Regions from separate parts of the Homo sapiens genome. Here regions 1, 2, 3, 5, 6 and 7 are each linked to region 4. Evidence: promoter capture Hi-C in 16 types of primary human blood cells and fetal thymus (Javierre and others, 2016). All regions are on one chromosome and are shown on one strand. The core of a region is centred on a gene start or on the middle of the fragment in contact, and the rest is flanking DNA. Distances in the headings are between cores, read along the strand shown. Region 1 overlaps LYST (lysosomal trafficking regulator). Region 2 overlaps LYST (lysosomal trafficking regulator). Region 3 has its middle 2.6 kb from the start of TARBP1. Region 4 holds the start of TOMM20 (translocase of outer mitochondrial membrane 20). Region 5 has its middle 24 kb from the start of LINC01354. Region 6 holds the start of LINC01354 (long intergenic non-protein coding RNA 1354). Region 7 overlaps LYST (lysosomal trafficking regulator).

Region 1 (3,803 bases), core at 31-2,530, 580 kb after region 4:
TCATCGTACAGAGCAGCTGCATGGTTGATTTAGGATGGACTGGCTGAGCACCTGCAGAACTCCATGTGTGTGGCTTCAGGAGCGGCAGCAGCAGGAACTTATTTATTTAACAGTGAATGAGGCATCTGGGAATGGGCTGGGGATGGGGTGCATAAGGGCATTTGTACAAACTCAATCTTTCCCAACTTTCAGGTGTTCTGAGGGAACATCTGACTCCTGACCCAAAGCAGACAACTGACATACGAGAGTCCCAGGGGAACACTGATAGGAAATGATATGATATACGCTGTAAAAAACTGTGTTTTCCAAAAATGGCTATAACAGCATTTCCTGTCTTGCATGCCCTTCCAGAATCTTGCTACTCTCCATCACAAGGCAAAGTCTATCTTCCTTTCTTTTGAATCTGGGAAGACACTTGTGACTGCCTCAATGAATAGGAAGAATACAGTGGAAGTGATGCTGCGTGGCTGCTAAGAACAGGCTGGAAAAGGCCATGCAGCCTCTGTTCGTCTCCCTCTTGGAACACTTGTCTTTGGAACCCTGAGTTGCCAAGTAGGACATCCAGGGCTGCCGTGCTGTGGGGAAGCCCAAAACTAGCCCACACAGAGAGACCACATGAAAAAACACTGACATTGCATGAAGAGAGGGTGATGTGCTCCAGCTGCCTAAGGCTTCATCTCCTGCCTGTTCCAGCTCCAGAAAACCTGAAGGCAACAGCATGAGACACCCTGAGCTAAAACCATCTAGCTGAGCTGTTTCTGAACTTCTGACCAATTTCTTATTTCTGACCAATAAAAAATAATTTTATTATCTGTGATTGATAATAAATTTATTATTGTTTCAAGCCATTAAGTGTTGAGATTATTTGTTATACAGCCACAGATAGCTAGAACATACATATAAGAGACCATGGACAGAGAAAACAAGGAGTAGATTTAAACAGGAGTCCTAAATGAAAAGCTTCAAGGCAGGTGCCCCAAATTGCAGGTGCTGATGTTTGACTGAGGCATTTCTCACTTGAGCAACACTATGAAATAAGCTCCAGGGTGGCATGAATCTACTGATGATTCAATAATCAATCAAACAACCTCAGAGACACAGATACTATACAACAAAATTCCAATGTAATTTGCCCAACACCAACTTCTTAAAGCTGTTTCATATGCTCTTAAGGATCACATAAAATTATAGAATTAAGTAATATAAGAAAATGACCCAAAGATACCCCTTAAAGGGTTAGCTGCTCTTCTATTTAAGAATAGCTAAGGTTGGCAGCCAAGACTGTTAGTTGGCATCACAGAAAATTTGATTTTATACTCCAGTATTCCTTTTGGTTATTAGATAATTCTGGGCAGAGTATTTTATTTTTATTTTGGTCATTCCTCATAAAATAATTGAGATTTCAGTTAATTTACATTTTGCTTTCAATAAAGTCATACCTCTTATTTTTAAAGTAATTAGCACATTATAACTTTTGTATTCAGAAAAAAGAATAAAGCAATTTCTATAATAAAATTAAAATACATATTTACAAATAACTTTAATAGTTAAAAGTTACAGTTTTCCAAACATATTTAGTCCTATAAAATACTTAAAATCCTCAAGCTTATTTGAAAATAGAATTATATACTTAATAAAAAACATTTTCTCTTATTTGGGGACTCAAAAATTTTTAGGACTTAAAAAAGCTATTTTCATTTTTGGAAAATTACAAAATAACCACAAGCCCTCAGAAATATAAATTAAAAATAATTTATTGCTATACCTTCACGGTTAACTAGGAACTCTGGAAGATAGAAAAACTCTGGGATAAGTTCTTTCACATCAGTCATAGATTCAAAAGATGAGAGTCGCCAAGTTGTATTTGTAGAATGAAAAGTTCTGTCTGGAATGTCAAAACTTTGATCTATAAAAAAATACAAATAATACGATTAAGACACAAAGACCTAATTCTATTTGAGGCCTATCATAATTAATTTACTTTTGCCACTTCAAAAAGATTAAAATAATGCTAATTTTGTTTGCCCATAGTTTAAAAGAAGTTATTCATGTTCTTGAAAATAAATATTTCTATAAACTTGAGATCATATTACATTTTTCATCTGTATTATGCTTTTGTAATATATATTATTAGATTAGTTTATATCATCTATTTGTTTAATTTTCGTCTATCTATCAAAGTAGAATGAAAGTTCCACAAAAACAGGGCCCTGGGATATCACCCACACCTTGCACATAATGGGTATTCAATCATGGTTTATTTATTGAATGAATGAATAATGAAGAAGGAAGATTTAAGTTCAAGTAGGCAAACAGTTTTTTCCCCATCAGGAAGCATGATTCCTTCACTTTGAATTGTTAAGACTACTTTTTCTCCTTTCTTTTCTTTCTTTCTTTTTTTTCGGGGGGGTGCGTAGGTTACGGTGCATTGTTTTTTGGTGTTCTAACTCTGAGCTAAAGAATTGAGTAAAATTTCCTGTGAATGAAAATAAAAATAAGCATAGTCACTCTTTCGTTCATTTTTTTTCCAGGGTAGACTATTAATAATAAAGAATTAAGTTTGGACTCTCTTTTCTGCCAACAATGATCAGACTTTCTAGCCATAGGGAAAGGCCTAGAATATTAAATGATATCCAAAAGCTAGCCTCTGAAAACAGTAGCAGTTTACATGTTTCTTAGGAACCATATTGCATCATCTAAAACTCCTCTGAACTTGTTGAAATTTGAACACATCTTTTCATTTGGAGACTGCCACAAACACATCGCAGCATCAGGTTTCTTCTCCCAGCCTTAGTTGCTCTGCTGAGCAACATCTTCTGTCACTTGTATTACTTTCTCATCTATTCTGTTGAGTCAATTGGCATTGGCTGGCCACTAAAAAAAATCTGGGAAGAAATAAGGTTTAGAAACATTTACTTTTTCTCAGAAAGTAAGGAGGGCCACTTAAAGAAATACCTACTAACTTAGTAGAAAAAGTTATCAATCAAAATGGAATTCAGAAAAATTAAGGTAATTCTCAAAAACAAACAAAAAAACTAAAAGAAAAATTAAGGTAATTTTGTAAGGCTATGGTGAGGTCAAAGTATCTGGAGCTAAGACTAAGGAAATACGGAACAAGAGTAGCACATTGGGTAGGTTCTGTTCAGATTTTAAGATTCTCTGTATTTTCCTACATTTTATTAAACAGTACTACTACAAATTCCCATTATCTAGAATATGCATATATTAAACCTGTGGTTCTCAACCAGTAGCACTTTTGCCCTCCAGGGGTTATTTGGCAATGTCTAGCAACATTTTTGATTCTCACAACTGGGGGGATGGGGTGTGGGTGGTGGTGGTACCACTGGCACTAGTAGGGAGAGAACAGGGATACAGCTAAACGTCCTACAATGCACAGGGCAGCTCCCATGACAAACGAATTATGCAGCTCGAAATGACTACAGTGCCAAGGTGGAGAATCCCTGCATTAAACCAAAGCCAAGAAATAAATTCAAAAGCCAACAGATATCACTTGAAACTAATGAGATGAAAGTGAATGGAGACTGAGGTAGTCCTAGGTTTTAAACAAAATATATTCATAAATACATAATGAAGAAAACATAATATATGAATACATTCATAATAGTAACATGAATAAAAATATTGATAAATTTTAGTTGATTGGTAGTTTTATATTAATGGGTTCTTGGGCTACATTAAATGAAATGTAGTCTTGGATGGAGGGAGGTAATAGTTCTGTTAAACACTGTAGGGGCCCAAACCACATCTGAAATATTCTTTTTTATTTTGACTGCCTTTTTCTT
Region 2 (3,936 bases), core at 716-3,215, 600 kb after region 4:
TACATATAATGTTAAGGCAAATTAGCCTATATGATACTACAGAAAGTTTATCCAATTTAATGGCATGCTGTCAAAAAACACTTTAAATAATCTAAGAATCAAATAAGGCAGGGTGAATATGTGCAAAATTCTTCAAAATTTGACTTACCTAGTAACAATTCACCAGCTGTCTCTCTAGATGGTGCAACACTGATGCATCTTCGATTCACTCTGTCAAAACATATTTAAAATTACTATGACTAAATGTTCTGACCAATTTCAGAGAGGATATGCTTTATTTTACCTAGTAAAAGATTTCTGCAAAGCAGACTAGATAGAGTTCCAATAGCATGAGGTATCTTGTCGAAACCCACATGAAAATATTAGCTCCTTTTTAGCATTCTATTAGAAGAGAAATGACTGAAACGCCTAGAAAAGGCTAATAATCCCTATAACCTGTAGACAGAATATAGAAATTAAGTTATTTAAAAGAGATATCAATATTTTATATTTTCTAATAAATAAGCAAACATTGTTTCATGCCTCTGATACTTCAGATACATTTTTTGTGTGTGCTCTATTTATTTTTGTATTATTATTTTGTATTATTTATTTGTTATATACTATTATTGTATTATTTACATTATTATGAAGGTAATTTATCAAATACATTTTTAAAAAAGCCTAGTATTCTAGGAAAAACAGAGGATTTGGAATCAGAAAGTTCCTTTGTGTTCTTAGCCAATTATCTTCTTTGTGTCTCAGTTTTTCATCTATGAAATGGGTATAATAACAACCACAATAACTGCAATGATAATACTATCAATAGTTAATATATAATAACATACTTAATACTCAACAACGCTATGATACCTATTATTATTTCTTCATTTAATAGATGAGGTAACTGAGACAGAGAGGTTAGGTAACTTGCCTAAGATTAAAGAGCTAGTAAGAGCAGGAACTGGAATCTAAACCTTTAATCACTACGTTATATTGCTGCTTGATGATACCACCAGCAGCTCTATCTATATTAATAGATAGAGATGTTAAACAGTCAATTACAAAATATGTGTGTGTATACATATATATGGGTATATATATATGTACCCATATATGTGTATATATATACATATTTATATGTGTGTGTGTGTGTGTGTGTGTGTGTGTGTGTGTGTGTGTGTGTGTATATGTAAACTAACAAGGGCCAGAACATGATGACTGAAATCCCATGAACTCTTGCTGTCAGAAATGTCATTTCCTTTTGGATTTTGGCCATATAACCTTGTCCTCCCTTGAGCCTTTCCTGTTTAGGATTTTTCTGAAAATGATGGCATTATATAAAATAAATATTACATAAACACTACAATAAGCTGTTGTATATTCATGAAAGAGTGAAGGTCTATTGATTCAAAGTTACCTTATAGATTCACTTGCAGCTTTGTCTTTGACAGTAGAAGAGAAAGAAGAATGAGTTTTGTCTTCAAACAGGTAAGAGAGTGGTGGTTTGACAACATCTGTTGAGGAGAAAAGTAAATATTATCTTTATCTAATGACCATAGTTCTCTGCTATATTTATATGTTGAGTCAAGAAGCCACTATTACCTTCTGATTTCTGTCTATCCCTAAGGAGATACTTATTTGGAATAGTTAAATAACATCTCTGTAAACGTCTCCTCTCTCGATTTGGCCCTTCTGTTGGATCCAACTGCCATGAGGTTGGATAGTAGATGGGGTCATACCATACTGCTCTGCAAGTAAAAAGATTAAAGGGTGTTTTAAGTGACCATCCAGGACTTGTAGCTATAAAAAAAATCATTATAGAGATTGAGTAAGTAAGTCACAACTGATCTGTTAATTTAAAAACTCCAAATGTTTATATATTTGATCAGGGAATGCATATACAAGTAGAAGTAATAAAATCTAAGTGTCTTTTTGCTCCTGAATCCCAGTCTCCCAGTTCCTCGCCTGAAGGCAAGCTCTGCTTCCAGTTTCTTTCAACTATTAAATTTTTTAAAAGATATGTAATGACTACTATGAACACTTTAGCAACATAATACAACATGCTGGATTTAATATGGTTAGGTAAATTTTTTTTCCAAATTAATTTTTTACATTTCCCATTTTGCATTTTTTTTTTTTTTTTTTTTGAGACAGAGTCTGGCTGTGTCGCCCAGGCTGGAGTGCAGTGGCGTGATCTTGGCTCACTGTAATTTCTGCCTCCCGGGCTCAAGCGATTCTCCTGCCTCAGCCTCCCAAGTAGCTGGGATTACAGGCTCCCACCACACCTGGCTAATTTTTGTATTTTTTTAGTAGAGATGGGGTTTCATCATGTCGGCCAGGCTTGTCTCAAACTCCTAGCCTCAAGTGATCCACCCACCTGGGCCTCCCAAAGTGTTGGGATTACAGGCGTGAGCGCCCTCACCTGGCCTCATTTTGCCTACTCTCTAATGAAACAAATAAAATCAATTTCTTTCTGTGGTATGAATCACATTTTTAAAAAGATTTTAAAATAAATTTTATCTTAGATGAAATAAGACAGGAAAAACATATTAAGTACATTTTTAGAAATAAATAAGAGAAAAAAATACCCTTATTCATACCCTAAACATACCAAAATACTGGTAGCGGTTGTTGTCTTTTTTTTTTAAAACGTGCATCTGTTTTTAATTTGTAGTTATGATCATTATGATCATTTTTCTATAACTTGCCTTATTTTACTGAAACAGTATTATCTTTATCTCATCATTTTGAATGGCTGCCCAATAAAGAGGTAGATGCATTGTAATGTATTTAACCATATTACGGTTTATAACTTGTTTCTAATTCATTCACTAGCATAAATAATGCAGAGATGAAAACTTTTATGTTTACTTTCTTTTTCTTTTTCTTTTTTGACAGGGTCTCATTCTGTTGCCCAGGCCAGAGTGCAGTGGCATGTTCATAGCTCACTGTAGCCTTGAACTCCTGGGCTCAAGTGATCCTCCCGCCTCAGCCTCCCAAAGTACTAGACTACAGGTGTGAGCCACTGTGCCTGGCCTGCCTTCCATATTTCGAATATTTTCCTTAGGATAGAATCACTAAAATAGGATAACTGAAGCTAGAAGTAAAATGTTTTTAGGATGATTAATACATATTGTCAAAATGTACAATGCCACCAAAGTTCTGAGTAAGGACAGCTAATATCCTGCGGTGAATATTAGCAGCCAAAATTTTTGTTAACATAAAAAGTAAAATGTGGTATCTAGAGGTTCTAGAAAACCAAATTAGCCTCTAGCAATATTGAATATTTTCCCGTGTGTTTGGTAATTCATTTGTCTTATGTGAGGAATGTGTTCATGCCTTTTGCTCATTCAAACTTCTGGGATCATAATATTTTACTTTAGAATCTGTGTAAGTTTTTCAAACAATAAAAATAACTTTATTTGCTGAAAATATATTTCCAGGCTTTTTTGTTCTTGTTATGGTTGTTAAATACACTGGAAAAAATTAAGGTTAAAATCCATTGATTTATTTGCAGTTTCTTCTATTGCATTTGAGCTTAGAAAGTCATCTATCCTTCAAAGAGTTGACAAATATCCTATTATCTTCTACTTTATAAACTTTTCGAGTAATTCTTTTATCCATATGGAATTTACTTTAGTGTCTAATGTTTAGTGTATTTTAGTACACCAAAGTCACATGAATAAGTTATCTTAACTAAATTTAGAGAATAATACCTTGATTTCCCGCTTTTTGTTATTTGTAATACATATTTTAAATTAGTTAGAAAAATATATTTTTCTCAACCATCCTGTTTCAGTGATTTCTCTATTCTTTTACAGACCATATTTTAAAATTAAGCTAATTTTACTATCTAGATGAGCTACTGCCCCCCTCATTACTTTTCTTCCTCAAGAATTAAAAAAAACTCATATGATTATTCTTTAAGATGAAAAAAACATCACAAATGATTAA
Region 3 (4,205 bases), core at 1,317-3,816, 650 kb before region 4:
ACAAAGCAAAGACAGAATGAAGCCACAAAAGCAGAGATTTATTGCAAAAGTACACTCCACAGGGTGGGGGCAGACCCAAGCAAGCCGCTCAAGGGGGGCTGGTTACAGAATTTTCTGGGGTTTAAATACCTATAGAGGTTTCAATTGGTTACTTGGTGTACACACTATGTAACTGAAGAGGATAAAATGAAGTTACAAAGTTATTTACTTGGTGTACTCCCTATGTAAATGAAGAGGATATTTCCTGTCATAGCTGAAGTGTTTCTATCTGATTTGGTTCTAGGGAGTTTTTGGATTCCCTGCCTCCAGGCCCTATTCTCCTGCCTTAGAGGTACCTATAGCAATGTGCTAGGATTCAGCTAAAACCAAGATGCCCACGCCAGCCCTCACAGCCAAGTGCCCAAGATGACTCCAGGATGCAGAGCCTCCTGCACAATGCATGTGCTCCCATGTGCAAACTCAAAAATAGTCCCTGTGTCTGTCTTTTCTGTATTTCTGACAGCATCCATTGCTAAATAGAGAAACAGAAAACCTCACCTCGGCATGCATGGTGTGGATTTGGTTCCTGGCTCAATTTGAGACAAACTAGATCAGTGACATAGGGTTTTCTTCGCTACTAAACACAAAGATCTGCCTCTTAGTCAATAGAGAAAACAGGGTCCCAACTTCAAAGAGCTTGACATATAATAACATAATGGATAAGACAAAAATTAGTTATTTAAATTTACAGTTATTTTTATATAAAGTTATCTGACTTTAAGGTTATCTGACATTACACAGGCAAGACTTTTTTCATATTTCAGTCATTCCGTTTTTCATTGACAAAATGCATAAATGTTTCTATTTTAAGCCCTTTTAACATGTCAGTAAATATCAATTACCTTCAACATAAAATGTGCAGAAAACTATTGTTTCTGTCAACATATATCTAACAAATATAAATGGGTAAATGTCTTGAGCACTTAACAAACGAAGATACACAAATGATAAGCACTTGGAAAAGTGTTCAACATCATTAGTCATCAGAGAAATGCAAATTAAACCCACAATGAGGTACCACTTCATACTGATGAGAATGGCTAACATGTAAAAGCTCGAAAACACTAAACGGCAAAGACCAAGGGTGTGGAGCAACTGGAATTCTCATACATTACTGGTGGGCATGAAAACGGTACAGTCACTTTAGAAACTGTTTCTCGTAAAGTTATAATATAGCTGCTTTATGATTCAGCGATTTCACCCCCAGGTAATTACCTAAAATAAATGAAAACATGTTTCAAAAAAAAAAGCTTGCAGAAGAATGTTTTTGACAACATTATTCGTTATAGCCAAAAGCTTATAACAACCTAGTAGGTGTTAGGTAACAACCTACATGTGCATCAAATTGAAGAATGAATAAAAAATTGTGATCTATCTATATAATAATGCTCCCAGCAATAAGACAATGAATTGCTAATCCGCTTTACATGGATAAGTCTCAGAAACAATATGTTAAACAAAGGAAGCCAGTCACAACGTTTACATCCTCGTGATTTCATTTATATGAAATCCAAGAAGAGACAAAAGTAATCTGAAGGATAGAAATGAGAACAGTAGTTGCATATAGGGAGTAGAGATTTGACTAGAATTGGGCACAAGGGAACTTTCTGGGGTGATGAAAATATTTTATGTTGATCAGGGTGTTGTTACACATTTGTCAAGACTCCTTGAACTGAACCCTTAAGATCTATGCATTTCGCTCTGCAGAAAGTTTACCTCAATCAGCCGGGCGCAGTGGCTCACACCTGTAATCCCAGCACTTTGGGAGGCCGAGGCCGGTGGATCATGAGGTCAGGAGATTGAGACCATCCTGGCCAACATGGTGAAACCCCATCTCTACTGAAATACAAAAAAATTAGCTGGGCATGGTGGTGCACGCCTGTAATCCCAGCTACTCGGGAGGCTGAGGCAGGAGAATTGCTTGAACCCAGGAGGCAGAGGTTGCAGTGAGCCAAGATCACACCACTGCACTCCAGCCTGGAGACAGAGTGAGACTTGGTCTCAAAAAAAAAAAAAAGAAAGTTTACCTCAATCTTGAAAAATGACTTATACCAAAAAACAAAACAAAACAAAACAAAACAAAAAAACAAGTTGGCCTATGTGTTTTATTCTCTGTTGCCTTCAGAGTAAAGCCTAACTGCAGAGCACAGCATTGAAGGCTTATTGGGATTGGGGAAAAGCCAGCTGGCCTCACAGCCTGACTCCCCCTTCTCTGCCCCAGGTCAGGCATGTGGAACTCTCCTTCTTACCCACAACATGTTTGCACTGTCTTCTCTCCCGGAATATTTCCCGCAACACCACTTTTCTGATTCACCAATGTGGGCAGCGATTCCTAATTGCCAGAGCTGCCCTTTTTCGTTCTTACCTGAATGGACTCTGTGGAGTATTTCCTATTTCTTGAAACACTATCTCACTCTGGTTTTCATCGATGACTTTGTCCTGTTCTTTCTTTTCTCTGCTTCCTCAGCTGTTTCTTCTCCCTTTCTTTCAGCATCTTATTTTTCCTCCTGACCTGTCCATAGTGATATTTCCAGGGTTTTATCTTCAGGTCTCTCTTCTCCTCACTCTGTAAATTTTCTCTGAATAACTTCATTAACACTATAGATCTGATTACCATTTACATGCTAATGATGAAAAAGTCTGTATCTCCAGCCTAGGTCTCTCTCCTGAGACTTATCCTTAGGAGATAGCTCGAAACCTATTTCTCCAACTGCCTACCACACGTCTTCATTTGAATATTATTCAGGACATCATTCTCAGTCTCCACTTTTACAAATCTAACTTCATTCCCTTCATCCCTTCACCCAGCATCATTACTCCCCACCGATGTTCTTCTTCCCAGGAATTCCCTGTTTAGGGAAATGGCCATCATTCCCAAGTTGCCCAAGTCAAAAACCTGGGAACCAATACACTTCCTACTTGATTCTCACATGCAATCACTCCTCAAAGTTTCCATGCAACTTTCTAAATCTCTCGGTGATCCCTCCTCTCTGTGCCCCACTAATACCTTACTTAGTTTTAGACCCTCCTCATTTCTTGCCAAGATAATAGCAATCACCACCTACCCCACTCCCAGCTATATCACATTTAAGTAACGCTTATCGAGTGAATAGCCATCTCCTACTCCTTTATGAAGACCCAAATTTCAAGGCATCTCTCTAAGAAGCCATTCCTAGTGCCCCTGGTCGTGTAATACATACTCCGTATTGGTACTAGGATGATCTTCCTAAAATTACATCATTGGCTACCCAGAGCCCTCAGAATCATGGTTGAGTTTCTTAGCATATCATCCAAGATGCCTCAAGATGGAATGCCTGCCTAATTCTCCATCTTCACACTCCTGACAAGCCCCATTTACACCTTAATTTTGAAGTCCCTAAAACATGTGTGCTCTCACTTTTCTTTGTGTTTTTTCAAAAAAAGCCCTTCTCTCTTTTGGAAAGCACTTACCCCTTCTCCACCTGACTTTTTTTTTCTTTCAAGACAAAGTTCAAATGTTATCTCTCCAGAAAGTCATTTCTTAATACCTTTCTCCTGCTGCTAACACCCCAGTTAAATTAGGTGACCCTCTTTCAAATTCCCCAAACATCCTGGCATGTCACCAACACAGCAATGGTCACACTGTGTTGCAATTGCAGGTTATTTCTCTGCCCCCTACTCCTCCTCTCTAAGCAATTTGAGGGCTAGGCATGGGGTATGAGGTTTTGTCTGCTATTATACTCATGCCAGTACCTCATCTCAGACATAGCACACTTCAGTAAAGCTTTTTTTTTTTTGTAGATGGAGTCTCGCCCTGTCACCCAGGCTAGAGTGCAATGGCGCAATCTCAGCTCACTGCAACCTCTGCCTCCAGGGTTCAAGTGATTCTCCTGCCTCAGCCCCCAGTGCAGCTGGGATTACAGGCACCCACCACCACGCCCAGCTAATTTTTGTATTTTTAGTAGAGACGGAGTTTCTCCAGGTTTGCCAGGCTGGTCTCAAACTCCTGACCTCAGGAGATCCACCTGCCTCGCCCTCCCAAAGTGCTGGGATTACAGGCGTGAGCCACTGTGCCCAGCCCAGTAACACTGAGTGAATAGCCATCTCCTCCTCTATGAAGACCCAAATTTTAAGGCATCTCTCTAAGCAGCCATTCGTAATGCCCCTGGTCATAACTTACTTCTATT
Region 4 (4,028 bases), core at 893-3,392:
CAGGAGGCTGAGGCAGAATTGCTTGAACCCGGGAGGCGGAGGTTGCAATGATCCGAGATCACCCCACTGCACTCGAGCCTGGGCGACAGAGCGAGACTCAAACAAACAAACAACAACAACAAAAAATCTCTAGCATTCATCAATTACCATGTGTGAGGAACAGGACTAAAACTCTACACTATACCATTTTACAAAAAGGGAAAACTAAAGCTTGAAGTTACTTGCCTAAAGTTACTGCTGCAGCTAAGTAATTCACTGTAATCATTAGGTTGCCGCTAAATCCAGAAAAAACAATTTTAGATTGAAAATGATGGAGAAGTTATTTTGAAATAACATTCCTCCATTTGTCTAAAATGATAGCTCTTGTTTCTGCAACAGGACTTCAGGGTTTCCAACGGAAGATAGGGTTAATCCATTCTTTATAACTCTGCATTTGTACCAAAGCCCCCAGCTGTCACCCATTTTGGCAACTACAGGACAATAACCCGAAGGCAGAATGACCACCAGCATTTATGGAGGAGCATTTCCTATGTCAGAAAACGTGGAAGGCAATTCAAACATCTCAACCTTCACAAGATCAACAAGAGGTAGGTGGCATTACCTGATTTTACAACTACAGAAATTAGGATTCAGAAACCCCAAATTATGCCGCTAACCTGGCCCTAGAAATTCAAGGTCTGAATGTAAAACAGTATTCTATTAGTCTGCCTAGTCATAAATCAAATTATGTCTATATCCCTTCCCTCCTAAAACATAAGAAAGCTGGAACTAGATGTCTGATTCTTAGTGCTAGTAAGATCAGCGCTGCAGTCACTGCTCACACAGGGCTACTGAACACTTGAAATGACTTAGTATAGCTGAATTAAACCGTAACCACTGTTACTTAAGTAAACAATAATCCCTTCTTTGTACCCCTTGGGCTTTAGTAACTTACGTATCAATTTTAATTCCAAAAACTAATTTGGCTGAACAACCAAGATAAGCCAAAAAATATTTCTTATTGCAACAAATTTGCTCTTCAATGATGCGAATGAAGATTCTCCGAAAATTCAAGGTGGATCACAACGGTTTTCATGACACGATTCCCCTCTGGTAGACCTCTCTTAAAAGATGTCGCAGGTATGAAATAAGACTGAGCCACGGGAGAAGCGCAGCCCTTTGGACTCCCCTGCAATTTCTATAGCATTCACTCATATCTTGGAAGCACTTAGAACGAAGCTACCAAGAGGGTTTAAGAATGCAGCAATGAGCCAGGCGGATCATCTGAGGTCAGGAGTTCGAGACTAGCCTGACCAACACGGTGAAACCCCGTCTCTACTAAACACAAAAAATCACCGGGCGTGGTGACGCCCGACTGTAATCCCAGCTACTGGGGAGACTGAGGCAGGAGAAGCGCTTGAACTCGGGAGGCGGAGGTTGCAGTGAGCCGAGATCGCGCCACTGCACTACAGCCTGGGCGACAGAGCGAGATTCCGTCTCAAAAAAAAGAATGCAACAATGATACTGCACTGAGCATGCGGATTTAGCCTCAGACTAAAATTTGCGACAAAAATGCACGACTTTTTAGTTAAGAGTAGAGGTTTAAAAAGATGAACGACAAAAAAAGAGACAACCTCCTCCCCAGGCCACACACACCCGAGATTGCAACAGAAATCAAGAGTGCATTTGCACGGCTAAAGTGTCTGGGGAAAACAAAACGGGAAAAATCCTTCCTCCAAAATGGAATTCCTACGGGGCACTAGAGCCCCCGGAGCGGCGCAGCCAGCGCCATCGCCTATTGAGGGCCGCACCACGCGGTCGCCCTGCGCGGCCCACAGGCTGGTGGGAGGCAATGACCCCTCCTGTGAAGGGCGGCGGCCGAAGGCAGCAAGCCTGGCCAGGGGAGAGAGGACCCACTCACGTTCTCGAAGCCTGTTCTTGAAGTTGGGGTCACTTCGTCTTTTGCGGTCGAAGTAGATGCAGTACCCAATGAAAAGGGCCCCGCATACACCGGCGGCGATGGCGCTGTTCCGACCCACCATCTTCTCTACAACGCTGAGCGTGGACGGTGGCGGCAGGGACCGCGAAGGAGCGGTGGGCCACGAACCCTCAGAGCGGTCGGCGCAGCTCACACCCGACGGCCGCGGGCCAGGAACACAGAAAGGCCGAGCACACGCCACTTCCGGTCCCAGTCAACTAAGGGCCTCGAGGTCGTCCGCGGCAGAGCCTGAGCAGAGGCCCAGAGCGCGGCTCCTGCGCCTGCGCAGTGGGCGAAGCCGGCGTTTCCCCTGCGCCGCTGGGTGTACGCACTGGAGTCGGGAATTTGCACGTGACCACGGACTTTTTTTCATATCCGCCGACCATGCTGTAACGAGGCGTACGCGTTACTGGCGTGCACGTACTCAGAAGACTAGCTGACAGCCTTGTTTGTGGCAGACAGAGATGCAGGGTCCCAGACTGCGAATGCTTCATCTTGTCTAACACAGGCAGCCTGTGACTTGTTTGAATTAAACTGTACTTTCTTTTCAGGTTGCCACAATCCATTGTGCGTAGTGGTTCCATTTCAAAAGAATGTTACAGGATAGCCTCATTTTATGATAACTGGAATAAAATTAAATGGAGTAATTTCTTGAAAAATATACACAATTGAAGAAAAAATAGAAAACGTGAATTGTTTTATAGCCACACGAAAACATACACATGATCAGGCCAGGCGCGGTGGCTCACGCCTGTAATCTCAACACTTTGGGAGGCCGAGGCAGGCGGATCACTTAAGGCCAGGAGTTTGAGACCAGCCTGGCCAACATAGTGAAACCCTGTCTCTACTAAAAATACAAAAATTAGCTGGCCATGGTGGCCGGGGCCTGTAATCCCAGCTACTCTGGAGGCTGAGGCGGGAGAATCGCTTGAACCAGGAGGCAGAGGTTGCAGTGAGCCAAGATCGAGCCACTGCACTCCAGCCTGAGTGACAGATCAGGAGTCCGTCTCAAAAAAACAAAATATATATATATATGATCTAACTTAAGATATTGACAAGGAAAATCGTGGGCAGAAAGCAGGCATTAAACAGACACTGTAAGTTGAGGGGTATCGAAGTCAAGCATCAGTGTCAAGAGACATTGGAACCAGAGCTACCTTACCTTGAATAGGGGCTGGGTAAAATGAGGCTGAGACCTATTGGGGCACATTCCCAGGAAGTTTGGCATTCTTGGTCACAGGATATTTACAGGGAAGGGAACAAGTTAATAATGTTTACCTAACAGACCCAGGAAATGTCCTGATGTCCTGATATCTTAAGAACAAAAGCATTCTTAGTTTAATTTTCCCTTTAAAGATAATATTGATCCTTGCAGAAGACAGTAGTTACACAGGATTAACAGTCCTTTGACAAAGACCAGGCAGTGTCTCACACCTGTAATCCCAGCACTTTGGGAGGCCCAGATGGGCGGATAGCTTGAGCCCAAGAGTTCAACACCAGCCTGGGCAACATGGTGAGACCCTGTCTCCACAAAAAAATTAAAAACTTAGCCAGGCGTGGTGGCACACACCTGTGGTCCCAACTACATGGGGAATGATGCGGAAGTATCCCTTAATCCCAGGAGGTTGAGGCTGCAGTTGAGTTATGATTGTACCACTGCAGTCCAAACTGGGTGACAGGGTAAGACCTCGTCTCAAAACAAACACACAAAAAATCCTTTGTCACAAGCTCTTGGAGTAGAGCTCATCTTCCTCATTTTTTTGCTGTTCAATACAAACAAGCCTTGTACCTAAGGTGGACATGTTCCTTCTCTTGCTTTAGGGTATGCACCATTCTACAAAGTAACCTTTCACTTTTTTTTTTTTTTTTTTTTTTTTTTGAGACAGTCTTGCTGTCACCCAGGCTGGAGTGCAGTGGCATGATCTTGGCTCACTATAACCTCCACCTCCTGGGTTCAAGCGATTCTCCTGCCTCAGCCTCCCCAGTAGCTCGGATTACAGGCATGTGCCACCACACCCAGCAAATTTTTGTATTTTTAGTAGAGATGGGGTTTCACCATGTTGGCCAGGCT
Region 5 (3,836 bases), core at 161-2,660, 620 kb before region 4:
TGAAATGAGACAAGGTGTGTATATTAGTTAGGAATGTTTTTATTGAAAGGAGAAATTCAACATGACTCAGTAAAAATGGGTCTTTGGTGTAAGAATTGTGGGATGTCTCAATCCAACTTGGCCCTAGATTCTAACATTGGCAGCTCTTCATTTTTCTTTCCTGCCCCCCTCTGAATATCTGAACACAAGCTTCTTCTTCCATTCCCCTCTCTCTCCCTTCCATTAAACCAGGTGCCTCTACTTTTCCATTCTTCCAAACTTTGCCTCCTACAGCTTTAGCCGCCTGGAAGAAACTAATTTGAACCTCCCTCTTCAATATATACTGCTTGGGTGATGGGTGCACCAAAATCTCACAAATCACCACTAAAGAACTTACTCATGGCCGGGCACAGTGGCTCACGCCTGTAATCCCAGCATTCTGGTAGGCTGAGGCGGGCGGATCACGAGGTCAGGAGATTAAGACCATCCTGGCCAACATGGTGAAACCCCGTCTCTACTAAAATACAAAAAACTAGCCGGGTGTGGTGGTGCACACCTGTAGTCCCAGCTACTCAGGAGGCTGAGGCGGGGGAATTGCTTGAACCTGGGAGGAGGAGGTTGCAGTGAGCTGAGATCGCGCAACTGCACTCCAGCTTGGCAACAGAGTGAGACTCCGTCTCAGAAAACAAATAAATGAACAAACAACAACAACAACAACAAAAAACCGCCTGTTCCCCAAAAACCTATGGAAATAAAACAATTCTTTTAAAATAATAATTTGAACCTCCCTCACCTTGCAAATCCAAAAGTCCAATGGGAGTGGGAGAGATGTAATGGTCCACTTGAAGTCAGATGTCCCACCCTCACCCCAACCAGCTATGCCCAGAGAAGAGGTTTGTATATTCCCAAACGCATTGCGAAAATTACAGGAGACAATATATAAAAATTACTTTGGAGAACTGTGACAAGTGTAGTGTCGTTATTTCCTATTTGATTTGTTATTATTATTTTTTGATAGAGTTTTGCTGTTTCGCCCAGGCTGGAGTGCAATGGTGCCATCTCAGCTCACTGCAACCTCTGCCTCCCAGGTTCAAGCGATTCTCCCACCTCGGCCTCCCGAGTAGCTGGGATTACAGGCTATTTTCTATTTTAATTCATCGCTCCATAATGGGGACTTTCCATCTTTCTGCCTCCTCTACTCCCTCAGCCCTGCCCTGCTGCCCTTCTTTCCACTCCACCCAAATCCTTCCTGGGCTTCAAGTCCTTACTCAAATCTTTCCAATCCACAGCCATAGAAGTCTTCTCTATTTGCAAATTCCTATTACCCTTAGAGTTGATTTCTCTCACAGTTAAGTCCTTAATTGTCTTCTAATTGGTCCTTGGCCTAGATCCTAAGTCACCAGAGGGCAGGAAGCATGTCTTCTTGTGCTCCTAGAGCCTTGTGCTGCTTCACATATTTCCAGGCACTAGGAGGTGCCCCTCTGCAGTGCTGGTCCTGTCCCACCCCCCCCCCGCCCCACCCCAAGGGTTCCTTGGAAGTTGTTGCCTGCAGGCTTCCTCCCCACTGACCTGGAACTCCAGAGAGGCCCCAAGATAAACACAACGAAAGCCCTCAAATCTGCAAAATCTGCAAAAGATTTAGATTAGGGGTGTCCAATCTTTTGGCTTTTCTGGGCCACTCTGGAAGAAGAACTGTCTTGGGTCACATATAAAATACACTAACACTAACGACAGCTGATGAGCTAAAAAAAAATTGCAAAAAAATCTCATCGTGTTTTAAGAAAGTTTCTGAATTTGTGTTGGGCCGCGGGTTGAACAAACTTGATTTAGACCGTGTTACTGCTACTCAAGGTCTGCAGGGCTGTTTCCCTCACATTGCGCATGATGTAACCAGTTCACCTAATTGCAACCGATTTCAACTTCATGCTATTGGATTTGTTTCCCTAAGGTATCAGATTCCAGAAAGGTCCTACTCTTCCCCAAATCAGCTGGGGAGGTGCGCGCAGCCTATTTTCTACCTGCTTTCTGGTTTAGTCTTGCTCAGAAGCCTGGGCAGGCCAAGTGGGTGCTCCCCTGGGCTGATCCTGACATTGGGCCACAATGGGAGATGTGGTGGAGGAGCGTTATTACTAGGAAGCAAATTAGAACCTTTATCATAAGGAGGCAAAGTCTTGCCTGGGAAGAAAAGAGCACATGCTAAGTTAAGGTAAAGAGACCAGGACAAAGAAAAAAAAAAAAAGCTAAACATAAATTGCAAGATGTTCAGGCATGGTGAAACTAAAATAGCTCTTTCTAGATTGTTCCATCAAAAAAATTCAAAATACGATACGTTCATTGAAGCTGAACTTTTGTTCTCTCCCTCCCACCCTTCTTCATTCCTTTCCTTCTTCCTTCCCTCTCTTCCTCTTTCTTTCTGCCCTTGTTTGCCACTTGACTAAGCAAGAACACAGCCACATATTCCAGCTTTCGGCTTATGGAGAGTGCTGGAAAACTGAATCACTCATTATTTAGAAGATTCACCTCAATGACCTCCCAATCCCTCCCAACTCGGAGGTTCTGTGGGTCTATAGAATGCCCTGGTGAAAGAGAAAGAACACAGGCTTTGAAGTCAGACCAGGTATGTCCCATTTCAGACCAGGTATGTCTGACTTCAAAGCTTGTGTTCTTTCCTTTCACCAAGGCATTCCATAGACACACAGAACCTCCGAGTTGGGAGGGATTGGGAAGTCATTGAGATGAAGCTTTTTGTTTGTTTGTTTTTGAGATGGAGTCTTGCTCTGTCACCAGGCTGGAGTGCAGTGGCGTAATCTCGGCTCACTGCAACCTCCGCCTCCCGGGTTCAAGCAATTCTCCTGCCTCAGCCTCCCGAGTACTGGGACTACAGGCATGCGCCACCACGCCCACCCAATTTTTGTATTTTTAGTAGACACGGGGTTTCACCATATTGGCCAGGATGGTCTCGATCTCTTGACCTTGTGATCCGCCTGTCTCAGCCTCCCAAAGTGCTGGGATTACAGGCATGTGCCACCGCGCCTGGCCGAAATGAAGCGTCTTAATAATGAGTGAATCCTAGTTCTCATATTTACTAGCCGTGTGACTTTGGGCAAAGTACTTAACCTCTCTGAGCCTAGATTCCTCATCTGAAAGCCTGGCCAGTGCCAACTACCAAGTTGTTGACATGAAGATTAAATGAGAAACTACTTATAACACATGGAGCTAGAATGGAGATGGAAGACTAGGTCCCAAAATCTGCTGCTGGGAAAGCAGAGGAGAGAAGATCAGGCTGCAGAGTGGGAGGTTTATGGGACTGGGTGGGTGAACAGAGGATTTGGCATTGTTGCTTAGAAAAGCTACTTGGGGCCGGGCGCGGTGGCTCACGCCTGTAATCCCAGCACTTTGGGAGGCTGAGGCAGGCAGATCACCTGAGGTGGGGAGTTCGAGACCAGCCTGACCAACATGATGAAACCCCGTCTCTACTAAAAATACAAAATTAGCCGGGCATGGAGGCACATGCCTGGAATCCCAGCTACTTGGGAGGCTGAGGCAGGAGAATTGCTTGAACCCGGGAGGCGGAGGTTGCGGTGAGCCGAGATTGTGCCATTGCACCCCAGCCTGGGCAACAAGAGCGAAACTTTGTCTCAAAAAAACAAAAACAAACAAACAAAAAAAGCTACTTGGGCCAGCTTATTTCCCAGAGCCTGGCCTTGCCCTGTTCTCCCTGCCTTCTTGTGTAGCTGGATTCTTGTGAATAACCCGGGTCTGCCCCCGGGGACTTCCACCACGTGTGCTATACCTCTGAGGCTGCACACTCTCCCACCCAGTGATTTCCCATGGGTTTTCTGCCCCTAACTATCCTG
Region 6 (3,700 bases), core at 32-2,531, 600 kb before region 4:
GCCAGAATTCTAAGATGACCCCTGATGTCCCATGCCCTTGTGTAATCCCCTCCCCTTGAGTGGTAGCAGGACCTTAATTTGCTTCTAGCCAATAGTATATGGCAAAAGTGATGGGATATTGCCCCCGTGATGATGTCACATTATCAGGCAAAGGTGAGGGGATTTTTGCAGATGTAATTAGGATCTCTAATGAGTTGACTGTAAGTTAGTCAAAAGAGAGATTATCCTGGGTGGGTCTGCCCTAATCAGATGAGCCATTTAAAAGAAGATCGAGAGGTCAGACACTAAAAGCAGCAGATTCACTCTCTCCCTTGCTGGCCTTGAAAAAGCAAGCTGCCATGAGATCCGTAGCTTGAAAGAAATGAATTCTGCCCTGTGACCTGGAGTGAGGACCCTGAGCCTCAGATGAGACCCCAGCCCCAGCTGAAACGCTGATGGAGTCTTGTAAGAGACCCTGAGCAGACGACCCAGTCACTCGTCCCCACACTCGTGGCCCATGGAAGCTGTGAGTAAATGTGTGGTATTTTAAACTGCTAAATGTATGACAATTTGTTACACAGCAATGACGATCTAGGAGGGGGGGGCTATTAGCAAGTGTTCATAAAATCTAAGATTTGTAAAAAAAAAAAAAAAAAGAGGTTTTTTTTTTTAGCTTCTTGGAATATTACATAAATAAGATGCAGAGGTGATATGTAACACTAATAACTACACTGGTTAGTAGGTAGCAGGAAAACCAGTCTTGCCATTTGGAAACAATAGTGAGAGCTGTATTTTCTTCCTCTTTCTCTCCCTGCCTCACACATACAGTTGCCCAAACCATTGCTAATAGGCAGGTCCTATTGCTAACATCAGCAATCATATTTAGACACATCAGATAGCTATTCCAAGGAGGCATTTTTAATTTCTCTCCCAGCTAAAGCTGTCACCTTGGACAGGAAGCGGTGGGTTCTGTGCAAAACCACAGGAAAAACTTTCCCTAGAACACTGGATTTCAAGAGATGCCTATGCCCTTTCTAAGCTTGTAGACACTTTAAAGCAGTGCTGAAAACTGTGCCTGGCACTTAATGGGGACACAGTAAGCGCTCAGCAAATATGGAATATGCACAAGTAGCATCAGCTTTTGAAAATGCTCTTTGCTTTATAATGTCAGAAGAAGTCCAGGTGCAGTGGCTTGTACCCACAATCTCAGCAATTTGGGAGACCGAACTATTGGGATTGCTTGAGGCCAGGAGTTCAAGATCAGCTTGGGCAACATAGCAAGACCTTGTCCCTAAAAAAACCAAAAAAACAACAAAAAAAATTAGTCAGGTGTGGTGGCATGTACCTGTAGTCCCAGCTACTTGGGAGGCTGAAGCAAGAAGATTGTTTGAGCCCAGGAGTTGGAGGCTGCAGTGAGCTATGTTTGCACCACCACACTCCACTCTGGAGTGACACCCTGTCTCTAAAAAATAAACAATAAACAATTAATTAATTTTAAAATTAAAAAAATAAAATATCAGATGAAATGGTCAGTGTATTAAACACTTATCAATGGATTCGACCCTAAAGCTTAACTTTTAGTGATTCTTTCTAATATTAGCTTTATTAACCAAAGTGTGGGATTTTCCGGTTGCTCTTTTGACGGCTAGCTGATAGGATGAGGTAGGGGCAGGGACAGGAGAGAGTTGGGTGGGGGCAATGAAAGCCCTGGCCTGGCGGACATAGTTTCAGTCTGCTCTGCAGAAGTTAAAGTACGCCTGGGAAGACAAGGCAGATAACGTAGCACGCAACTGAGCTCATGAGTGGAGGAGAGAAAAGAGAAAATGTGTCTCTGTGGGTAACCCCTGGGGGAGCCCATTTTGCAGTAAATGCAGAAACAGTATTATTAAGTCAGGATGAGCGTAAGAAGGACTGCCAGAAATAGACCCCGCCCCCACCCCCCGCACCGCCCCAGGTCACTGCACCTGCCCAAACCTTGATTCTCTCCCTTGAAAAACAGGGACGATGATAGCACCTCCCTCAGCGGGCTGCTGTGGTGAGGATTCAGCAAGATAATCCACGAGGCTTCCAGGAGATGAAGGATGCTCAGTAAATATTTGTGATGATTATTCACAGAGATGAACCTAAAAGCTAAATGCCACGAGTGACTGGCTGGATGTTACAATGTCTGGGGAATGCTTCGCAGCCTGACCCTTATTCCAGAAAGTTCTGTGAGTATCCTCATGACCTCACTGAACGTCAGCGCCGACTGCTCTTACTTAACAGGGGAGAGCCACAGACTCTGCAGTGCGTGGCAGGCAGGGCCTGTCACTGTCTACTGTTGTCGCTGTGGCTGTAGCAGTGGAGGTGGCCGGGCCTTCTTTCCCACCTCCCCTTCTTCCCCATGGTCAGCCCCGCTCCCAGGCTCCGTCTGTGCCCCTGCAGCTCCCCAGCGGTGGCCTTTTTGTTCAGTGCTTCCTCGGCGGCTGGGACTCACCCTGATTTAAAAGCTCCAGACGTGTTCTCGGCAGCCCGGGAGCACAGGAGTCAAAGCAAGACCAGGAGCGGGTTGCTGAGAGGACGCCACGCTGACTGGGGATCGAGAGGGTGGCTTCCTTCAAACAGAGAAAGGAAAAAGCCCCTTGAACCAATCTGAATGTAAAATCCAAAAGCTATGGCCACCGCGAGGAAAACAACAGTCATGATGCGGGCCAGGAGGCCGTCGCCGTGGGAATGCAGTCGGCCCTGCGCATGTGGTGTCTGAGCAGGGCCCGAGACCTTCCAGGGAGGGGAGAAATACTTTTTGGCTGACTCTCCTGACTCTGTGTTTCCTACAATTCTACAACAAAGATCCAGGAACATGAGAAAAGGAAAATGAGAAAATGAGTCCTGTGATCCAAATTTAAGCCAAGAACAGGACAGGCAATGTGAGCCAAATAGAAATGAGGCCAAGAGTGCTTTCTTGGGGCCCCAGCTTTTTTTTTTCTTTTTTCGAATGCCCAAACCTGTTTAACTGCTTAGTGTGAACTCTAGTTCTGGGATACAGTTCACTATGGGAAAGGAAATTTAATTAGCACTGGCGACCTCACCTTCATTCTTAGGTCAATACAGTAAACTGGCATATGAATAGTGATTTCTACCAATTGATTCCTGAAGGAAAAGAGAGAGAAAAGGAGAGAGGAAGACACACACACCTACACACACACACACACACACACACACACACACACACAGAGACAGAGACAGAGAGAGACAATGAGGCACAGAGAAACAGGCAGAGACAGAGAGACAGAGAGACAGAGAGAGGGGAAGAGAGACAGAGAAACAGAGACAGAAAGAAAGAGACAGACAGAGAAAGAGAGACAGAGAGGCAGAGAGAGACAGAGAAGCAGAGACAGAAAGTCAGACAGAGAAAGAAAGAGAGGAGCAAGTGACATACTTTAAAAATTATTCTTGAGAGAGGTCAACCTGCATCAGCTGCAGAAATCAACAATCACTTGGCAGTGTCAGCTGTAATACATTCCCACATTGCATTCTGCACGGGCATTGACTATCTTGACCCACACTCTCTATATCATGTTCACAGTAACGTAAGTGGTCAGATTTCTACAATTAGGCCTTGCAAGATAATAATGACAAGCCGTATTCGTATATTGCTTTACTGTTTGCAAAGCAGTTGCATAATTATCATTACGTTTGGTTCCTCATGACTGTGCTGTGAGGAAGGCGTTCCTGTTCCCAT
Region 7 (3,945 bases), core at 1,049-3,548, 630 kb after region 4:
CGCCCAGCCTCACCTGTCTTTTCAGTTAATCTTCTCATGTTAATACTATCTGCCAAATCTTAGCTATCACTTTCATCTGATGCAGCTTTTATTTGTTTCTAGTTTCTAACTAGTGAATGAACTATAAAGGATGAAGTTATATTAGAAAGAACATCATATGGCAAATAATACATTGATTTACCTGGAAAATTACTTTTAGCAGATTTTTTCTAAAGGTGACCAAAAGATTTCGTTAAGAGTGAGTTCACTAAATTTTACATTTAAGACAAAAGACCTTGCCGGGTGTGGTGGCCCACACCTATAATCCCAACACTTTGGGAGGCCAAGGCAGGAGGATGGCTTGAGGTCAGGAGTTTGAGACCAGCCTGGGAAACACTGCAAGACCCATCTCCACTAAAAGTAAAAAAAATTAGCCAAGTGTGGTGGTGCGTGCCTGTAATCTTAGCTACTCAAGAGGCTGAGGCAGGAGGATCCCTTGAATCTAGGAGTTCAAGGCTGCAATGAGCTGAGGCATGACTGTGTCTCTCTGCACTCCAGCCTGGGTGACAGAGTGAGACATTGTCTCAAAAAAAAAAAAAAAAAAAAAAAAAAAAGCCAGGCATAGTGGCTCACACCTGTAATCCCTGCACTTTGGGAGGCCAAGGCAGGCAGATCACGAGGTCAGGAGTTTGAGACCAGCCTGGCCAACATGGTGAAACCCCATCTCTACTAAAGATACAAAAAACTAGCCGGGCATGGTGGTACGTGCCTGTAATCCCAGCTACTCAGGAGGTTGAGGCAGGAGAATCGCTTGAACCTGGGAGGCGGAAGTTGCAGTGAGCCGAGATTGCACCATTGCACTCCAGCCTGGGCAACAGGGCGAGACTCCGTCTCAAAAGAAAAGAAAAGAAAAGAAAAGAAAAGAAAAGAAAAGAAAAAAGACAAAAGATTCCCAATTATAGTGGAGGGAAGAACACACTTACTCTTCATCAAGGCCAATATGTCGACCAAAGAACATTTCGATGAAGCATTCTAACAATTCTTGAGTTCCTCGATGAAGATACAACTGGTTGGCTAGCAAGGAAAATCCACGATTCTTCAGAAATTTATCTTTTTGTTCCTTAGATGCTCTAGCAAAATATGCATCTAATAGCTAAACAAAAAATTTAAGTCAATTTAGATAATGCATTAAAATTAAATATAATATATACAAATCAGTGTAACACAACTGTATTTGTAAATTAAGTTCATATGTACAGAAGAACACAGAAAGCTTAAAAAAATGCCACCACCACAGCAAAGCAGAAATGAATTTGTCTTTGGCTACTGTGGAATGCTAATGATGACTCCATCTTGGAGATCTTAATGTTTCTCTCATGGGGAAACTGGCATTTTTAGCTGAGCATGGACACCTGGTAGACTGGCAGCCTTAGTTGAGTATAAATAGAATATTTGTACCTAATGCTGAGAGGGAAAAAATCCGTAAACTATGCTCTCTCTGCAAATCTATATCTATATCTATATCTATATCTATATCTATATCTATATCTATATCTATATCTATATCTGTATCTATATCTATCCTAGACCTCTACTTCTAGGCTTCTTGACAGATTATTTATCCTGAGCACAGGCCTGAATTTCCACCCTTCTCTAGCATCTTAAATGCAACACGTGTAATACCAAATTAATCCTTCCACCTCTTTCTCCCCTTCAATGACTCTCACAGTAGTGATAGACTCCTTTCCCCCAGACACACATCTATTTATTCCCCTACTAAAAAAGCTTTCTAAGTTTACAGCATAACACAAAATATACTTTTTCCATGAATCCTTCCGTTTCCCCTATGCTCAATTCTCTATTAATACTGCCACTGCAGTACTCATCACAGAATTTCTTACGTTTTACTTAGTTAAGTATGAGACTCTCCCTTCTAGACTGTGAAATTCTTGAATGTAGGGGCTTATATTATTTCCCTTTATATACTATATTGCAACTAGCTCAGGGACTTACACATGAAATGCGAGCTCAATACTAGGTTGTATTGCAAGTGATTAAACAATACCTACATCCAAGCAAACTAAAGAAAAATGAGAATCTTTACAAGATTATTTTAATATTGGGTTGTTTTCTAATGGAAACTATTCATATCAAGCATTTACTCATTCAATAATATACTTAGTACCTATTACACAAGATGCCCACCCTCATGGAGCTTATATTTGTGAGAAATTTAAAAAACAAGTACACAGATTAATAAGATAATTACAAGACATAAATAGGATGCTATGATAGAATAAATAATAAGTAAGATTAGAGGGAAGTTATTTTGATAAGATCATCAGGGAAGGTCTTTTTGAAAAGGTGTCATCTAAGCTGAGAGCTGAAGTAAATGTCTAAAATTTGATAGTACACTGAAGAAGAGATTTCCAATGAACCACGTATTCCTTGTAATTTTTACAAAAGAGATTTACTAAGTGTTCAGATATGGGGATTTATTGGTAGATTTAAAAGACATATTGATATGAACCAACATATGGAGGGGGACTTAAAGCTGGATGATGCAAAAATATGACCATGTAACCAAAAACCCCTGTATCCCTAAAGCTATCAAAATAAAAAAAGTTTAAAAATATATGAGTATTAAGTAACAAACTATATTAGTTCATTATTCTAAAATATAAAAGAGAGATTTAGGTCTACTTTAATGTATATACTCAAAATTTTAAATTACATATATATTTATTTTTCTGAATTAAAATAACATATCTAGTATTTGCCCTTACTTTAATAACACCTTGTTGTATAGCTGGTGATGGGTGGTTAACGAGGACCAAAAGTGTATCTGCTTGAATAAGCTTGTCCATCACATCTTCAAGCAAAACATCAGGCAGGATAAGAAGAACCCCACTTAGGAGTTCATATAATCCACAGCATATAGGTACCAAACAGTCTTCAGTTACACTAAAACAGAGACCAAAAAAGTCTTACTAACATGACAAGAAAAGTACTTGATGATTACCTTAGGAACTGTGACAAGTAGTAGCATTTTTTAACAGGTGAAACAAATGTTCATAATGCTTAAGAAATGTTTCCTAATTTAACTGTGATTAACAAATTTACCATCACTTTTTATCATTGATTTTTTTGGGCATATAGTCTACTAACACTATTCAATTGTACATCTCTGATGTCTAATACAGTAGTCACTGTCACTTATGCTATTTATTTAAACTAAAAATTCAGTTCCTCAGTTGCATCAGCCACATTTCAAGTGCTCAGTAGGCATATGTGGCTAGTGCTGACTGTATTAGACAGCATGAATAAAACATGTCCATCATTGCAGAAAGTTTCACTGGACATTGCTACTTGAGATGCTATTGGAAATGTTTTTTTTTTTTTTTTCACCAAGGAAGAAACAGCTTTATTAGGAGTCTAGGCATGTCAGAAAAACCCAGTTCACTCACAGAGAAGAGAGGCAAATATTGGTACAGGGGAAGAATCTAGCATTACAGAATATCCTCTCAAGAACCAAGTGTGAAAATAAAACCTCCATCTAAATATCCTAACAAATGCTGCTGGGTTTAGCCCAGGTGAAACTTCTGGAAGCTCCTGGTGAAAGGAGATTTTTTTCATAAAAGGAATGCTCTCTAGCACTGCTGCATTTCAGCTCCATATAAAGTTATGGGTCTGCGATAGCAGAAGTAGAGGAAAATATAAGGGGGATATCTCATCACCAAAGCAAGGTCATCTGTGTCCAGGTGACAGAGGAACCTTAAGTTTCTGGAGAGAGAACAAACTGGGGTAGCAGAAGGAAAATGGCTGAAGAAATACAACGCCTAGGCAATGTCTGTCATAACATGGAGGACTCTGTGCAGTCTGGTGACAGCCTGTCCTGGGAAACACTGGTATTGCTTTCTGAGGCCATTTTAGCTTTCTTCTGACTTCATCCAGAGAAGAACTGCC

Evidence for each region. The method cuts DNA at HindIII sites, captures the fragments that hold promoters and counts their contacts. A CHiCAGO score of 5 or more calls a contact.
Region 1: a fragment that was not itself captured here is called in contact with the fragment with the promoter of TOMM20 in region 4 in 1 of 17 cell types (monocytes); the score reaches 5.4 in monocytes.
Region 2: a contact is called between a fragment that was not itself captured here and the fragment with the promoter of TOMM20 in region 4, in 1 of 17 cell types (fetal thymus). The highest score is 5.1, in fetal thymus.
Region 3: a contact is called between a fragment that was not itself captured here and the fragment with the promoter of TOMM20 in region 4, in 17 of 17 cell types (erythroblasts, naive CD8 T cells, activated CD4 T cells and 14 more). The highest score is 15.2, in erythroblasts.
Region 5: a fragment that was not itself captured here is called in contact with the fragment with the promoter of TOMM20 in region 4 in 10 of 17 cell types (neutrophils, erythroblasts, naive CD4 T cells and 7 more); the score reaches 10.4 in neutrophils.
Region 6: a fragment that was not itself captured here is called in contact with the fragment with the promoter of TOMM20 in region 4 in 1 of 17 cell types (total CD8 T cells); the score reaches 5.6 in total CD8 T cells.
Region 7: a fragment that was not itself captured here is called in contact with the fragment with the promoter of TOMM20 in region 4 in 1 of 17 cell types (monocytes); the score reaches 5.8 in monocytes.

Annotation. Positions count from the first base shown.
Region 1 is chr1:235,710,292-235,714,094 of GRCh38, forward strand. LYST (lysosomal trafficking regulator) reads right to left here. Exons shown (of 53, transcript NM_000081.4): 43 at 1,766-1,906. Among named protein-coding and RNA genes, the nearest start is that of GNG4, 62 kb to the left of the region's middle. The HindIII fragment of the contact is 645 bases long and covers 959-1,603 here.
Region 2 is chr1:235,729,448-235,733,383 of GRCh38, forward strand. It overlaps LYST (lysosomal trafficking regulator), which reads right to left. Exons shown (of 53, transcript NM_000081.4): 35 at 1,585-1,730; 36 at 1,400-1,496; 37 at 149-210. Among named protein-coding and RNA genes, the nearest start is that of GNG4, 82 kb to the left of the region's middle. The HindIII fragment of the contact is 7,638 bases long and covers 1-3,936 here.
Region 3 is chr1:234,479,667-234,483,871 of GRCh38, forward strand. No RefSeq gene overlaps it. Among named protein-coding and RNA genes, the nearest start is that of TARBP1, 2.6 kb to the left of the region's middle. The HindIII fragment of the contact is 2,467 bases long and covers 1,334-3,800 here.
Region 4 is chr1:235,126,695-235,130,722 of GRCh38, forward strand. It overlaps TOMM20 (translocase of outer mitochondrial membrane 20), which reads right to left and starts at 2,143. Exons shown (of 5, transcript NM_014765.3): 1 at 1,901-2,143. The coding sequence starts at 2,021. It overlaps SNORA14B (small nucleolar RNA, H/ACA box 14B), which reads right to left and starts at 1,243; the gene lies at 1,109-1,243. It overlaps LOC105379283 (a long non-coding RNA gene), which reads right to left and starts at 1,507. Exons shown (of 2, transcript XR_949295.4): 1 at 935-1,507; 2 at 225-275. RefSeq lists enhancers at 1,871-2,090, 2,321-2,420. The HindIII fragment of the contact is 4,902 bases long and covers 209-4,028 here.
Region 5 is chr1:234,505,864-234,509,699 of GRCh38, forward strand. No RefSeq gene overlaps it. Among named protein-coding and RNA genes, the nearest start is that of LINC01354, 24 kb to the right of the region's middle. The HindIII fragment of the contact is 2,446 bases long and covers 188-2,633 here.
Region 6 is chr1:234,529,073-234,532,772 of GRCh38, forward strand. It overlaps LINC01354 (long intergenic non-protein coding RNA 1354), which reads right to left and starts at 2,707. Exons shown (of 3, transcript NR_038426.1): 1 at 2,456-2,707; 2 at 1,954-2,109; 3 at 1-1,270. The HindIII fragment of the contact is 530 bases long and covers 1,017-1,546 here.
Region 7 is chr1:235,754,516-235,758,460 of GRCh38, forward strand. It overlaps LYST (lysosomal trafficking regulator), which reads right to left. Exons shown (of 53, transcript NM_000081.4): 24 at 2,766-2,943; 25 at 963-1,132. Among named protein-coding and RNA genes, the nearest start is that of MIR1537, 97 kb to the right of the region's middle. The HindIII fragment of the contact is 1,073 bases long and covers 1,763-2,835 here.